Regions from separate parts of the Homo sapiens genome. Here all the other regions are linked to region 1. The links are contacts of gene promoters, found by promoter capture Hi-C in blood cells and fetal thymus (Javierre and others, 2016). All regions are on one chromosome and are shown on one strand. The core of a region is centred on a gene start or on the middle of the fragment in contact, and the rest is flanking DNA. Distances in the headings are between cores, read along the strand shown. Region 1 holds the start of SLC28A3-AS1 (SLC28A3 regulatory antisense RNA 1). Region 2 overlaps RMI1 (RecQ mediated genome instability 1). Region 3 overlaps KIF27 (kinesin family member 27). Region 4 overlaps GKAP1 (G kinase anchoring protein 1). Region 5 overlaps HNRNPK (heterogeneous nuclear ribonucleoprotein K).

What was found. Contacts are between HindIII fragments. The CHiCAGO score rates a contact against its expected background, and 5 or more counts as called.
Region 2: a fragment that was not itself captured here is called in contact with the fragment with the promoter of SLC28A3-AS1 in region 1 in 2 of 17 cell types (naive B cells and total B cells); the score reaches 6.8 in naive B cells.
Region 3: a fragment that was not itself captured here is called in contact with the fragment with the promoter of SLC28A3-AS1 in region 1 in 2 of 17 cell types (total B cells and neutrophils); the score reaches 5.6 in total B cells.
Region 4: a contact is called between a fragment that was not itself captured here and the fragment with the promoter of SLC28A3-AS1 in region 1, in 1 of 17 cell types (neutrophils). The highest score is 6.7, in neutrophils.
Region 5: a contact is called between a fragment that was not itself captured here and the fragment with the promoter of SLC28A3-AS1 in region 1, in 8 of 17 cell types (naive B cells, total B cells, M0 macrophages and 5 more). The highest score is 15.8, in naive B cells.

What each region holds. Positions count from the first base shown.
Region 1 is chr9:84,276,753-84,279,452 of GRCh38, reverse strand. SLC28A3-AS1 (SLC28A3 regulatory antisense RNA 1) reads right to left here and starts at 1,283. Exons shown (of 2, transcript XR_001746802.1): 1 at 1,054-1,283. It overlaps SLC28A3 (solute carrier family 28 member 3), which reads left to right. Exons shown (of 18, transcript NM_001199633.2): 17 at 68-188; 18 at 1,109-2,700. The coding sequence ends at 1,235. RefSeq lists enhancers at 866-2,065, 2,198-2,700. The HindIII fragment of the contact is 13,311 bases long and covers 1-2,700 here.
Region 2 is chr9:84,001,579-84,004,278 of GRCh38, reverse strand. RMI1 (RecQ mediated genome instability 1) reads right to left here. Exons shown (of 3, transcript NM_001358291.2): 3 at 205-2,700. The coding sequence ends at 1,415. Among named protein-coding and RNA genes, the nearest start is that of RMI1, 22 kb to the right of the region's middle. The HindIII fragment of the contact is 3,800 bases long and covers 1-2,700 here.
Region 3 is chr9:83,914,567-83,917,266 of GRCh38, reverse strand. It overlaps KIF27 (kinesin family member 27), which reads left to right. Exons shown (of 18, transcript NM_017576.4): 2 at 1,589-1,973. The coding sequence starts at 1,676. Among named protein-coding and RNA genes, the nearest start is that of KIF27, 5.5 kb to the left of the region's middle. The HindIII fragment of the contact is 6,796 bases long and covers 1-2,700 here.
Region 4 is chr9:83,787,911-83,790,610 of GRCh38, reverse strand. GKAP1 (G kinase anchoring protein 1) reads left to right here. Exons shown (of 13, transcript NM_025211.4): 5 at 1,933-2,010. Among named protein-coding and RNA genes, the nearest start is that of GKAP1, 29 kb to the left of the region's middle. The HindIII fragment of the contact is 1,756 bases long and covers 457-2,212 here.
Region 5 is chr9:83,972,925-83,975,624 of GRCh38, reverse strand. HNRNPK (heterogeneous nuclear ribonucleoprotein K) reads left to right here. Exons shown (of 17, transcript NM_031263.4): 6 at 120-163; 7 at 1,036-1,108; 8 at 1,652-1,723; 9 at 2,226-2,339; 10 at 2,653-2,700. HNRNPK-AS1 (HNRNPK antisense RNA 1) reads right to left here. Exons shown (of 2, transcript NR_186535.1): 2 at 1-192. Among named protein-coding and RNA genes, the nearest start is that of HNRNPK-AS1, 2.2 kb to the right of the region's middle. The HindIII fragment of the contact is 2,850 bases long and covers 1-2,675 here.

The sequences.
Region 1 (2,700 bases), core at 34-2,533:
ATAAATATATAAATACATAAATAAAACTAAAAAATAATAAATAAATGGGACTCTGTTCCACTTCTAGGCATACTCTCCAGCACTCCTGTGGACATCAACTGCCATCACGTTTTAGAGAATGCCTTCAACTCCACTTTCCCTGGAAACACAACCAAGGTGATAGCTTGTTGCCAAAGTCTGTTGAGCAGGTATTGTATTCTTGATTATAATTTCTTTATACTCCATTAATAATCAATCAAATCACACCTAAATATCCACTTACTTTTTTTTTTTTTTTTTTGAGACGGAGTCTTGCTCTGTCTCCCAGGCTGGAGTGCAGTGGCGCAATCTCCGCTCACTCATCGACTTAATTTTATAACTTTATGACTCTATTTAAAAGTAAGAACTTATGCAGTGATTCTAACCACCTTTCACTCTGACTTTTCTCAGATAAGGCTAGCAACTATAACACTAGCTAGTGCTACTCAAGCATTTAATATGCACCCAGCTGTGTGTTACGCACTTTGTATGAATTAGCTCACTTAAACCTTGCAACTACTGTATAAGTTGGGCACTATCTTTTTTTTTTTTTTTTCATTCCACAAAATTAAGGCTTAGGGAAGCTATGTCTACTCCAGCAAAATTAGCACAAGTACAAGTGAGATACAAAATTCAGGCTGATCTTCCTGCTAAGCCTATGCCCTTAACTGCTACCCTCTGCTGGCTCCCCTTCAAGGGGATCCAGGCTGTCCAGACAACACGATGATCGTCTATGGTGAACAAGAAACTACCAGTGACCCATGCCAGCCACCCCCACCCTGTACAGTTTTAATTTGCAAAATCAGTGTTCCCACACAAGGTGCCATCCTTAATGTGCAAGTGTTTTATAAGGATTGATTCTATCCTATCTTTGCTTGTTATGGAGGAAATAGGGAAAGTTCTTGAGGACACCCAGAATTTAGGAGCCAAAACAAATTCCCCAGTGTCTCTGTCCTTTAATCCACCCTAACCAGAATGTGAGCAAGAAAATCAGCTTCCTGCCCTGAACTATTTTTAATGTCATTGTCTGCTCACCTACTGTTTCTGCCATCTATGGCTCATGTAACTGTTTCTTTCCACTTTCCACCAGCACTGTTGCCAAGGGTCCTGGTGAAGTCATCCCAGGAGGAAACCACAGTCTGTATTCTTTGAAGGGCTGCTGCACATTGTTGAATCCATCGACCTTTAACTGCAATGGGATCTCTAATACATTTTGAGGTCAGCCACTTCTCCAGTGGAACTCTGAAGTACAGATGCTGAATTTTCTGCTTTGGAAAGAAAAAAAAAAGAAGCTATTGTCCACAGATTGATGCTTCCATAATGGAATCAGCTTTAATTGCAAGGAATGAAGAAAAACAAGAGTGGACCTTCAAAGCTACAACATTTTCCTCCTCCCCTCCCTCCCCACCAGCCCCTTCCCCACCAAGAACTGCTATGATGTCCCAAAGTGAGGTGTTGTTGATTCCAGTCTCAATGGGATTTTCTGACTTTAATGTTTGCAAGGCATTTCACCAGAATACAGCTATAAACGGCCGCTCCCAACAACTGGGCTCTGACTCACCCACACCCACTTAGTGTCCACTAAGTAGTCCAGGGTGACTCAGTTTAAGCACATCTCAGGTGAGGTCACTCTGCATATACCTTGGCTTACCTGAAATAGCCTGAACTTGAATCTCACATAAGGGAAAACTAGTCATCAATCACCAACTCATTGACTACCCTCAGGAAGTCCTGCAGAAATCAAGAGTCCTTGAGGAGAACACGTGGATCATACCAAAACCAGGGTTTAAATCCATTCTGCTTAAGAGTTCTATCAGTCAGTTTAACCATAAATTACGCTACAGAAACAAACAACCCAAAAACCTCAGTGGCTTACAGATTTATTTTTCACTCACATGTTTGTAATGATCCATCTTGGTTGTAATCCATATTGCTTCAGCACCCAGTCTAAAGGAGCAGCCTCTAAGGGGGGCATGTTGGTCTTAAGAGGGAAAAGAAAGGTGGGAACCACATGATGGCTCTTTCATCTTCCGCTAGGAAATGATACCCTTTACTTCCATGACATTCCATTAGCCAAAACAAGTCCTGTGACAGGCACGATGTCAGTCACCACAGTTAAATTATCCTGTCATAGGGAGGGATAGTGAATATTTTGCAGAAGTAATATGATACACCATAAGGGTACATAATATCCATGTCTCCCTTCAAGGAGCCATCCTGTTGTAGGCCATAACGGTAGGCCTATTCATCTGCACATTTGGTAATGTATTCCTGGTGACAAAGCAGCTACTCTTCAATCAAAAGCCGTGTAAGAAGCAGTTGAGGAAAAAAAGTCCTGGTTGAGCTCTGAAAACCTTGCGTTGATAATTTCATTGACCAGGATGGCATCAGTATCAAACTTGAAGAATGGGTGTCAGTGTCTAAGAAAAAGATTCCAGAGACAATGGTGGTGTGCTCTTTAACGAAATGCCCATCACCACTGCTCTTAATAGCATGAAGACCACATGCTGTGAGAAAACACAAACATCAATTACCAAGTCAAGAAACAGACACTGAATGTGAAAAAGGTTTTGAAATACCTTAAGTAATTTATTTTGTTTCTATTTTTCCTTCTGTTTGTGTACAAGAGTAATTTAAAAGAAAAAGCTATGTGAAAATAGTTGGGGTTTTTTGTGTGTTTTG
Region 2 (2,700 bases), core at 60-2,559, 280 kb after region 1:
AAAAGCTATGCAAGTATATAGACAAGATTATTACTAGGGCATATATTAGCAATATCTGTGTCCTGGTGCTTTGAACCCTGATACAACAATGAAAATATTTTAAAATCTTTCTCTTCTACTTCTATTATCATACATCATACATGTATTTATCTTACTTCCTGATATTTCGTTACATTATTTTCAATAAAATAAAACACCAATGTATTTTGTTATTTAAGGATTTGTTTAATGTTTTAAAATTCAAAGCACTTTAAATTATTTTAAGACAAAAGATTAATAAAAACAACATTACCTTTCAAATACAACTTTATAACAGCACAGTGGAAGAATGGTAAACAGTCCCTCTTTTTTTTAAAAAAAAATCAGTACTTAAAACCAAAGGAAGGCTTATATGTACAGCTAATTCAGAAAGGGAACAATGACACCTAAAGACATAGATAAATGCTTCATTTTAATCCAATAAATGTCCTACCTACTGGATCTTAATAATGATGTTTTCAATATGCCATTTAAAATAAACTATCCTTGAAAATAAAGTTTTAAATCATTCAATATAATCTATGAAATAGCATCTAGTTAACTAGATTACCTTAAATATACCAAATATTATAATCAGCAAAATAAAAACCAGTAAATCAATTTGTATCTGAAAGCCTGATGTTCTGATCTACTGGATTTTAATTTTTTTTCCCTAAGATTAACAATATAAACAAATCTTTTGGGTACTCAACATATTATGACAAGCTCAGGCATGTTCAGGGTGGTATGGCCATAGACAGTACCAACATATTAGAAGGAAATTACCTATTTATAATTATTAACTTTCAAAAATATGACTCACCACCGAACACCAGTACAATATTTTAGCAATCATCTTATGTGACGTGACAAGTGGAAAACAAATTTCTCAACAATAGTGGGTCACCATATTCCTCCATCTAACAGTTACTTTTAAAAAAAGTAAACTTTGGAGGCCATGACGGCAGGAGTGAGAGGCCAGGAGTTTGAGACCAATCTGGGCAACATAGCAAAACTCTGTCCCTACAAAACAATAATAGTAATTATAAATTAGCTGGGCATGGTGGTACATGCCTATAGTCCCAGCAACTCAAGAGGCTAAGGCAGGAGGATCGCTTGAGCTCAAGAGGTTGATGCAATAACCTATGATCATGCCACTGCACTCTAGCCTGGGCAACAGAGCAATACCCTGACATTAAAAAAAAAAAAAAAAAGATTAACTTATTTTCAAAAGCTCCACATATAACAAACATGATTAAACACTTTAAAATTAAACTGAAATAAGCTATGAAATTTCATTTTTCCTTTTTACACAAAGTATCATAAGTAAAATTGTGAACAAATTCTAAATATTTCCTTGTTGTTTTTAATTGTTCCTAATACTATTTTAGTTTAATTATTTATTTAACCGCTTCTTTAGATTCTCAAGGTGTTCCATATTAACATCTTGTAATGCCAGTACCATTGCTTTAGACAAGGAAGGATTAAATGAAATAGTCATTAGACAGCACAAATCTATTAGATCTCTTTGACATTTCTGCAACCCTTCCAGGAACTTTTGGTATTGAAGAGGATCCTTTTTTGACTGTTTCATTTCTGGTACTGAGAACCCTATCAAGCTAGTAAGTATTTCATCCACAAAGTCTACATCTAGATATGCAGTACCATCAGACACCTTTGCAGTTATACTCCAAATACCACCAGAACTTGAGAGATTTCCAGTTAAGGTTACAATAAATGCTTTCACTTTCACTGTTGTAACTTCCTTTGGTTTGCTGGCCATTAGAACAGACAAATAGACAAAGGGTGGAGAATACAAATCCATGGCAATAGAAAGATTAATGCTATTCTCTGATGATCTTAAAGAACAACTCTGTAAATTACAATCATTTTCATTAGAAATTTGTGAATTCCTTTTCTGTACATAGTTGACCACCTCTCTATTTAATATTTTATTATTTAAGGAATGGCTATCTGAACTGCTGGTTTGTTTTATTTTATTATCTGTCTCTAAGTTCTTTTCTTTATTTGTAAAATCATGGGCTAAGGGTACATTACAATGAACTGAAAAAATACTCCTGTTTTGGTCTCTAACAGATGGACAACCAAATGATTTGTCTTCATTAGTCATTTGTTCAGATACATTTTTTTCACTCCAATTATTGTTTCCATTTTTGCAAGTCAAAGAAAAGTTATTCGTAGTATTAGGATTATGTGAAAATCTCTCTATACTTCGATCGGCATTTCTGTTAAAAGTCAATGGTTGCAATTCCTTAGTTTCCATCTGTTCTTTCTGGACAGTTTCTTCTAAAAGCAAGGCCTCCTCCAGTGAAAAGTCATCTAATTCTCCATCCATTACATGTATAGATAGGTTTGATGGTTCCTCTTTTGGTCTTGGAGAAATAACAAATTCTGGCTCAAAACTTGACTGTCTTGTGGGAATGGTATTTGAGGAACTACCTGTGGTGAAACATCGTTCTGAGGAAGTGTCATTATTTGCTGTAAGCTCATCATTTTCATCAAGACTTGCCAAGAGTTCTTCATCAGAAGGACCTAATGCAGGATCTAGAACATCTGTAACTCTGGGAATGTTTTCGTTAGAATTGTTTGGTATGACTGAAACTACAAGATCAGGTTCCCCTATTAATCTTGCAAGTACTTTTTCTTGGGCATATTCTTCTA
Region 3 (2,700 bases), core at 21-2,520, 360 kb after region 1:
TTAAATTTATTTCTAAGTATTTTATTCTTTTTGATGCTATTGTAAATGGAATTGTTTTTTACATTTATTTTTAAGAGTGTTCTGCCACAGGAAGGGGAACATCACACATTGGGGCTTGTTGTGGGGTGGGGGAAGGGGGGAGGGATAGCATTAGGAGATATACCTAATGTAAATGACAAGTTAATGGGTGCAGCACACCAACATGGCACATGTATACATATGTAACAAACCTGCACGTTGTGCACATGTACCCTAGAACTTAAAGTATAATAAAATATATATATTTAAAAAAAAAAGAGTGTTCTGTCGTGCGCGGTGGCTCACGCCTGTAATCCCAGCCCTTTGGGAGGCCAAGACAGGCGCATCACGAGGTCAGGAGATCGAGACCGTCCTGGCTAACACGGTGAAACCCCATGTCTACTAAAAATAGAAAAAATTAGCCAGGCATAGTGGCGGGTGCCTGTAGTCCCAGCTACTCTGGAGGCTGAGGCAGGAGAATGGTGTGAACCCGGGAGGTGGAGCTTGCAGTGAGCCCAGATCGCGCCACTGCACTCCAGCCTGAGCGACAGAGCGAGACTCCGTCTCAAAAAAAAAAAAAAAAAAAGTGTTCATTGTAAATGTAGTTACCAATTATTTGTTTATATATATTTTTAGCCAGGAAACTACAGCCATCAATTTAAATTTTAATGTATTAATTCTAGCAGAGATCTTCAGAAATAAGTACAACATAATATTTAGAAGTAGAAAAAGCAGTTTTTCTGTTAGTTTTGATTATTTTTGAATACAAATTTAGTTTTAAATTTATGTTGACTTATTGAAATTCTTAAAACTATTTTCATGGATTTATTTCTAATAATTGTGGCAAAGAGGAGATGCTATTTTTCAATGCATAGCTATAAAATCTAGTACTAATGTTTGTTTTTAACACATGTACAGGCTGGGCACGGTGGCTCACGCCTGTAATCCTGGCACTTGGGAGGCCGAGGCGGGCGGGTCACCTGAGGTTCGGAGCTTGAGACCAGCCTGGCCAATATGGTGAAACCCTGTCTCTACTAAAAATACAAAAATTAGCTGGGTGTGGTGGCGGGCGCCTGTAACCCCAGCTACTCGAGAGGCCTGAGGCAGGAGAATCACTTGAACCTGGTAGGCAGAGGTTGCAGAGAGCCGAGATCTCACCACTGCGTTCCAGCCTAGACTCCATCTCAAAAAACAAAAAAACGTGTGTACAGTTCCTTACTTATCTCCTTGCCTTAATTTTCTAACTCCCTGGTTATTTAATATTTAGATTAATGAACTGGGAAACATTATTACTGTAGAAATAAAGGCCCAATGGAATCCCATGTACTTATCACCTAGCTTCATCATTTATCAACTCATGGACCCCACACCTAGATTATTTTGAAGCAAACCCAAGACATACTAGTTTGTCTACAAATTTACGATGTATTTTACAAGACAGGCTTACTCTTTGTAACTGTGTTGTATTGGAACAAAACCTGTTCTAATTGACTTTGCTTTAGAAGGTGGTTAGTTTATTGGGATACAAGGAATCAGTAATTAAAATTTGCTTTTTATTTTTGTTGCACAGGAATCCAGATCTTACATAAGATGGAAGTCTCTCACACTAGATACTGAACATTAAATAGAAAATCTATTTAGTAAAATCTAAGTTGCCATGGAAGAAATACCAGTAAAAGTTGCTGTAAGAATTAGACCTCTGCTTTGCAAAGAAGCTCTTCATAATCATCAAGTTTGTGTGAGAGTTATTCCAAACAGCCAGCAAGTTATCATTGGGAGAGATAGAGTCTTCACTTTTGATTTTGTTTTTGGCAAAAATTCCACTCAAGATGAAGTTTATAACACATGTATAAAGCCCCTAGTGTTGTCACTCATTGAGGGCTATAATGCAACTGTTTTTGCCTATGGACAAACTGGATCTGGGAAGACATACACCATTGGAGGGGGCCATATTGGTAAGATTCTTATACTCTTTGACTTTTATTTGTGACGCTAGAAAGAAGCAAAAATATGACCAATACCTGACACATGGTAGGTGTTTAGCATATTGATTGAATAGTGAAGGAATGAATCATGTAATCAAATGTGATCATAAGATCATCATCTTTGAAAGATTCGTTTTTAAATATTGAAGTTTCATTAAGCAATCTAACTTAGGATTATATTTGCTTGAGGAAAGAAGTTTAAAATAGTTTTCAGTGGTCAGCCCTTGTTATTTTGAACAGAATTTAAAATAGAGATAAATGAGTTAACATGATTAGATTTTGCATTCTTTAACAAGCCAGTTGTAAATATTAAGAGTCCCGCAATCAGGACTTAGGGACCGTAGGAAAAATTTATTATGTAAAGTATCTTTTCTTTTTCATATTCTAGCCAGATTTCTTTTTTAAATTCTGAATATTTTAGGACATAATTTCTCCTGCTTATAATTGTAGTTTGGAAAAGATGGAATCATAGGATCTCATATAGAGCTGAAGGGAACCTTGGAAATCATTTTAGTTAAGTGTCTGGTAATAGAGTGGGGGAATTGACAGCCAAGTCCTCTGTTAAGATTGTTTACTGTATTTATATTTTTCCACTAAAAACAAACTTTTGAGTAGTGCACATATGCATCATTGTCTAAAGTTTTAGTTAGTATTCTCTGTATGAATAGTGGCTCTCAATATTTTTCTATTTTCATAT
Region 4 (2,700 bases), core at 85-2,584, 490 kb after region 1:
GTATTTCACCATGTTGGCCAGGCTGGTCTCAAACTCCTGACCTCAGGTGATCCGCCCACCTCGTCCTCCTAAAGTGCTGGGATTATAGGCGTGAGCCACTGTGCCGGCCTAGTTTTGTTAATTTTTCTGTTAGGATGATTACTGTCCTTTAAGTTTAGTGAAACATTTTATTATCAGTTTGCCATGAGGTTAGGTGGAGAAATTGATGGAAATTTCCTTTTACCTTATAACCATTGAATACCCATGTACATAAGTGTATATAGTAAGACTAAAAGATTAATTTATTACTTTTTCTTGCTAATTACTAGTTCAGAGTAATTCTTCAATTCTTTTCAGTTATTCCATAAAGTATGTATAATTTACACTGGGCTTAATCTGATTTTCTAGTTCTATATATCCTTACCATTTTAATTCTAATTGTATTTTTCTGCATTCGATTGTTTTTCTGTGTAAGCTTAATCTTTTTTTCCTCTCTTTTTATTGTATCAGCATAGGATTAGATGCTTTCAAAGGGATGACTTTGCTTAGAAATGTTTAGTTCATAGTGTCTATTAAGATTTTTCTAGTTTTTAAGGTTTCTCCTTGAAACAGATCACTTCTTTTTGGAGTTGGTTTCTATTTTAGTTTAGATTTTTAAAAATCATTAAGTAATAGAAACAATTATGATTAACTTAGCCAAAAACCTTTTTTGAAGGATACTGAGTGATTCACAGATTTGAATTAAAAACTAAATAATTAGGTCTTGAAAAAGCTGGAAACCAAGGAATTTGGGAGTGCTCAGAGGCATGAGCTAGTAGATGTCATTTTTCGAGGGTTATCATCAGATAATTAAACCCACCTGCTTTTCCTTTGTTCTCAAAATTTAATTCCTGGGAGGAAAAAAAAGGAATTGGATCACTTGCCCCCACCTTTTGTCATTGGTGATGATAGCTTGGGTGTTTGTGTGGTATGGTAGTGCTTAGTGTACAGAATTATGCGACTGGCTGTTCTGCTGAAACCATGGGACTTTGGAATGAAGTGCACTTATTTAAAGGAATCGAGGAAGGGATTCTGGACAGATAAAAACAAGAGATGCCCACTAAATTTATGCTTTTGTTATCCTGTACACATAGACACATACATGTACACAAATCCAGGATGTTTACCCATGTCATGTTGCAGCTATCTTATATACAGCTGCAAACCCACTCACCTTATGCCCAGTAGTGGACAACTCAAAGTCGCATCCAACTACTGCAACATTCTGTTTGGCAATTAGGAAAAGTAAGTCTTGTAGAGATTAATTGGATTGGAGGGTGGTGAAAACTGGATTTTAAAAAGTTAGGTGAGATTGATTAGTGAAAAAGAGAAACAAATATATATCACAAAGAATCATTATTAGATGACTTAAAGCAACCATATAGTTTATCATTTTGAGAGTAAAAAGATGCACTATGAACAATTATTCTGTAACACCTGGCATATGCCAGGACATTTGGCAAACTTATTTTGTACCTGTGGTTTTTTCTATATTCATGAAATGGCATATTGTGTTTAATAATGCTTATTGAGTTATTTTTTAGTATTCTTATATTTTTGAGTAATAATCACTCATAATTTTTAGTGTCCTAAACTGAATGTTGCCTTTGACATCTATTATAGTGCCAATTATTTGGTAAGATTTTTTTATTAAGGTAAAAAGTAAGATTATATCATATATAATAGATAACAATGAAGAGGAGAAATGGAAATCTCAAAATTGGAAGTTTGTATTTTGATGTCTTCTATAGAATATAGGCTTCCTAGTTTGGCATGGTTAGATAACTTTGGAGAATCCATATTGTTTTTTAACATATTTGCTTTCTTTTCCTCTGTATATAGTAATATGTATGGTTATTTTGCTCATGTGATGTAATGATACTGTCTGTTTATTGTGAAACTTTTTTTTTGTAGCTGACATCTGAAATGTTTGAAGCAGATCTTGAGAAGGCATTGTTACTAAGTAAACTAGAATATGAAGAGCACAAAAAGGTATTTACATACTTACTGATTTAGATATTTTAGAAGTTTAAGTGGTGAGAGGTTAAAATCAACCTACTTGAATTTTACATAAAATTTTTCTGTAAAAGTTTGTCCAAAAATTCATTACCATAATAAAATATTACCAAGAAGTGTTTATAATAGGATTCCTTCTCAAGTTTTGAGATAGAACAGAAACAGTTGGAATTAAGCTTTGTCCGGTGACTTGGAATGTTAAGGAATTTCCCCACCCAAGATGAAGGGAAGAGAGAGAATAAAATTCACAACAGATGATTTTAATTTAATTTTATTTATTTTTATTATTATTTTTTCTTGGGACCGAGTCTCACTCTCTTGCCCAGGCTGGAGTGCAGTGGCATGATCTCACCTCACTGCAACCTCCGCCTCCCAGGTTCAAGCGATTCTCACGCCTCAGCCTCCTGAGTAGCTGGGACTACAGGCGTGAGCCACCACACCCAGCTACATTTTGTTTTTTTAGTAGAGATGGGATTTCGCCATGTTGGCCAGGCTGGTCTCAAACTCCTGAGCTCTGCTGATCCACCCACCTTGGCCTCCCAAAGTGCTGGGATTACAGGTGTGAGCCACTGTGCCCTGCCGATTATTTTAATTTTAAATGAACATAGAAAATAAGTGGATTTAAAATTTTAATATGGGCTATTACAGTACAGGGGCATTTATTGA
Region 5 (2,700 bases), core at 1-2,500, 300 kb after region 1:
AACCCTGGTTGGCTATGCCCAAAAATGTGCTCGTTGCCAAACGGGTACCATACTTGACAACTTCTGATTGAATGCCCATGCCCAATGCCAACATCCACGAACGCCAATGACCAATGCAGTACAATGCCAGTGTTTCAGTCCCAGACAGCAGTGGCCCCGAGCGGTATGTCCCAACAGTTTATGCCTCACTGCCTGATTAGAAAGAGAGAAATGTATTTTATTACCTGCCTTTTATATAATTAAATAGTATCCCCTTTAGACGGTGTATTGTTTTTCAAGTTTCTGTCTTATTTTCCCCATTAAGTCTTTTTGTCACTGAACTTTTACCGTGAGTTGCCCACCCAAACGATCCACTAATTTTATTTCGATGGAAGGAGCACAGCTTCAAGTGTTGCATATTTGCCGCATTGTAAATCAAATTGTTACCAAAATAGTCTCTCGCTCTGTCTTTGTGGCCCACCTTGCTTCCCAACATTGCCTGTTCATAATTTTTTCTGATGAAATGCTAACTCTGGTTCACTTTCCTTCACTTCTCATTTGTGTTGTCTTTGTTTTGTCTTGCATTTGTATTTGTTTTCTTGCAGAGCCCATTAGTGATCTAATTTCTAACTGGTATTCATAACCTTACTCCAGATACAATGTTCACCACTTGCATATTCCCCCACTTTGCCTAAGAGAAGGTGTGCCAGTTTTACCAATGTAACAGCAAGGGTATCCTTAACTCAGTGGTGGCGGGGAACATAAATATTCAACTCTGCTTCAGTTCTGGTCAGTTTATTGCCCACTTAATCTGAGCCCTTCCAAAAGCCCATTCTCTCTGTCTCTCTGCAAGTCTCCTAATATTGTTATCATGTCTGTATTGGGTATAAAACAAAATGCATGTGAGAAATCTATAAATAGGCTACTTTAAATGGGGAATATTAAATAATCATGTGTTACATCTCTGTGAAAGTTTGTATGATTTGGTGACAAACACAAAACTCATTTTTCTTTTCCACCTTTTTTGTACTATCTGGTATTTGTGGTGTTTGACAGCATATTGAGTATCAGTGCTGATATTGAAACAATTGGAGAAATTCTGAAGAAAATCATCCCTACCTTGGAAGAGGTAGGCTCATTTTTTTTTAAATGTATTTGACAATATGAGGGGGGAATGTTTAAAGTATGTTGTATTGGGGTATGATGGGGGAGGTGGAGAGACAATGGATATGACAGTTTGTAGCAGTATCTTAACCTGCTACATAATTTTGTACATGCGTAATTTGTTTTTTTTTTTTTAAAAAAAAAAACAGGCTGGCCACTCCTGGAGTAAATGTGAACTTAACCTGTGGTCATGTGCTTTCATGGGTTTAGTATGTATTTTATGGGCTTTAGTTATCAGAAAGATTTTTAAAATTAGAATATTTGTGGGAACATGTTGAAAAGGAGAATTAGTTAGATTTAGTTAGGATTTTAAGACTCTACATAATTCACTAGGTGTATATAGAGAAAAATATTTTATGTTTTGAATCGTCTTAATGTTGAATAAAGCAGTTTCTCATTATTTAATAATATAGATTTAAAATATGTTGTAGTAGCTTTACCAATATATGCGACAATAGCCTGATCACGCTAGACACTTAACCTATTACTCTTATTTTTCTACTTTCAGGGCCTGCAGTTGCCATCACCCACTGCAACCAGCCAGCTCCCGCTCGAATCTGATGCTGTGGAATGCTTAAATGTATGTCATAGTGCCATTGAACCCCACTGAAGTATGGAGCCTGGCCCATAGGATCGATTATATTTTTAACATAGTGTGCTTTTCCCATCTCTATAGAAAAAGGCTTAAAAACATGATACATGAATGGTCTTACAACTCACTGTTGACCCTGCTCCATGCTGCAGTGGGAATTAACTACATTTGCAAAGTGCTTTGCAGTCATTTTTATTATGGTGTTATTTGAATGTTAATAATAATTTTGTGGTAACAGCGACATGCTAAATGGCTGCAGTGTGGGTATGGTGTTGCAGGACCTGAAAATAAAATAGTTTTTTAAGGTGGTGCAGAATGTCCTTTTTGGGCCTGGCTATTGAGGATAATAAGCACATAACTGGTAAAGTTATTGAAATATAAATTCAGGTTGCTCACTGCAACAGTATATTATTGTTATGCTTATAGCAGATAAGTGTGTATTGGGGAATTGTTGATTTGAGACTAAAATTTTATAATTCTCCCTCCACAGTACCAACACTATAAAGGAAGTGACTTTGACTGCGAGTTGAGGCTGTTGATTCATCAGAGTCTAGCAGGAGGAATTATTGGGGTCAAAGGTGCTAAAATCAAAGAACTTCGAGAGGTAAAAAAAAAAAAATTCTGCCGTATTCTTTGCTGGAAAGTAAATTTTCATATAGACTTGTTTCTGTGAGCTTCTCTCGCTTCCCCTCTCAGTTCCCTCCAAAGATTGCTTATCGCAAATGACAAAAAATGTCTGGCACTGCTAGACATGTTATTTTGTCAAAATTTTTATACCATTGCAAAGCCCTGTGATAATTAATGAAGTTTTTATATTGTGGGGGGTTAATTGTTGAATTCAAATGCAATTTTCACTGAACCTAGGAAAGCTAATTTTCTTCTAATTATTATTATTTTTTTTTATGATCTTACTACAGAACACTCAAACCACCATCAAGCTTTTCCAGGAATGCTGTCCTCATTCC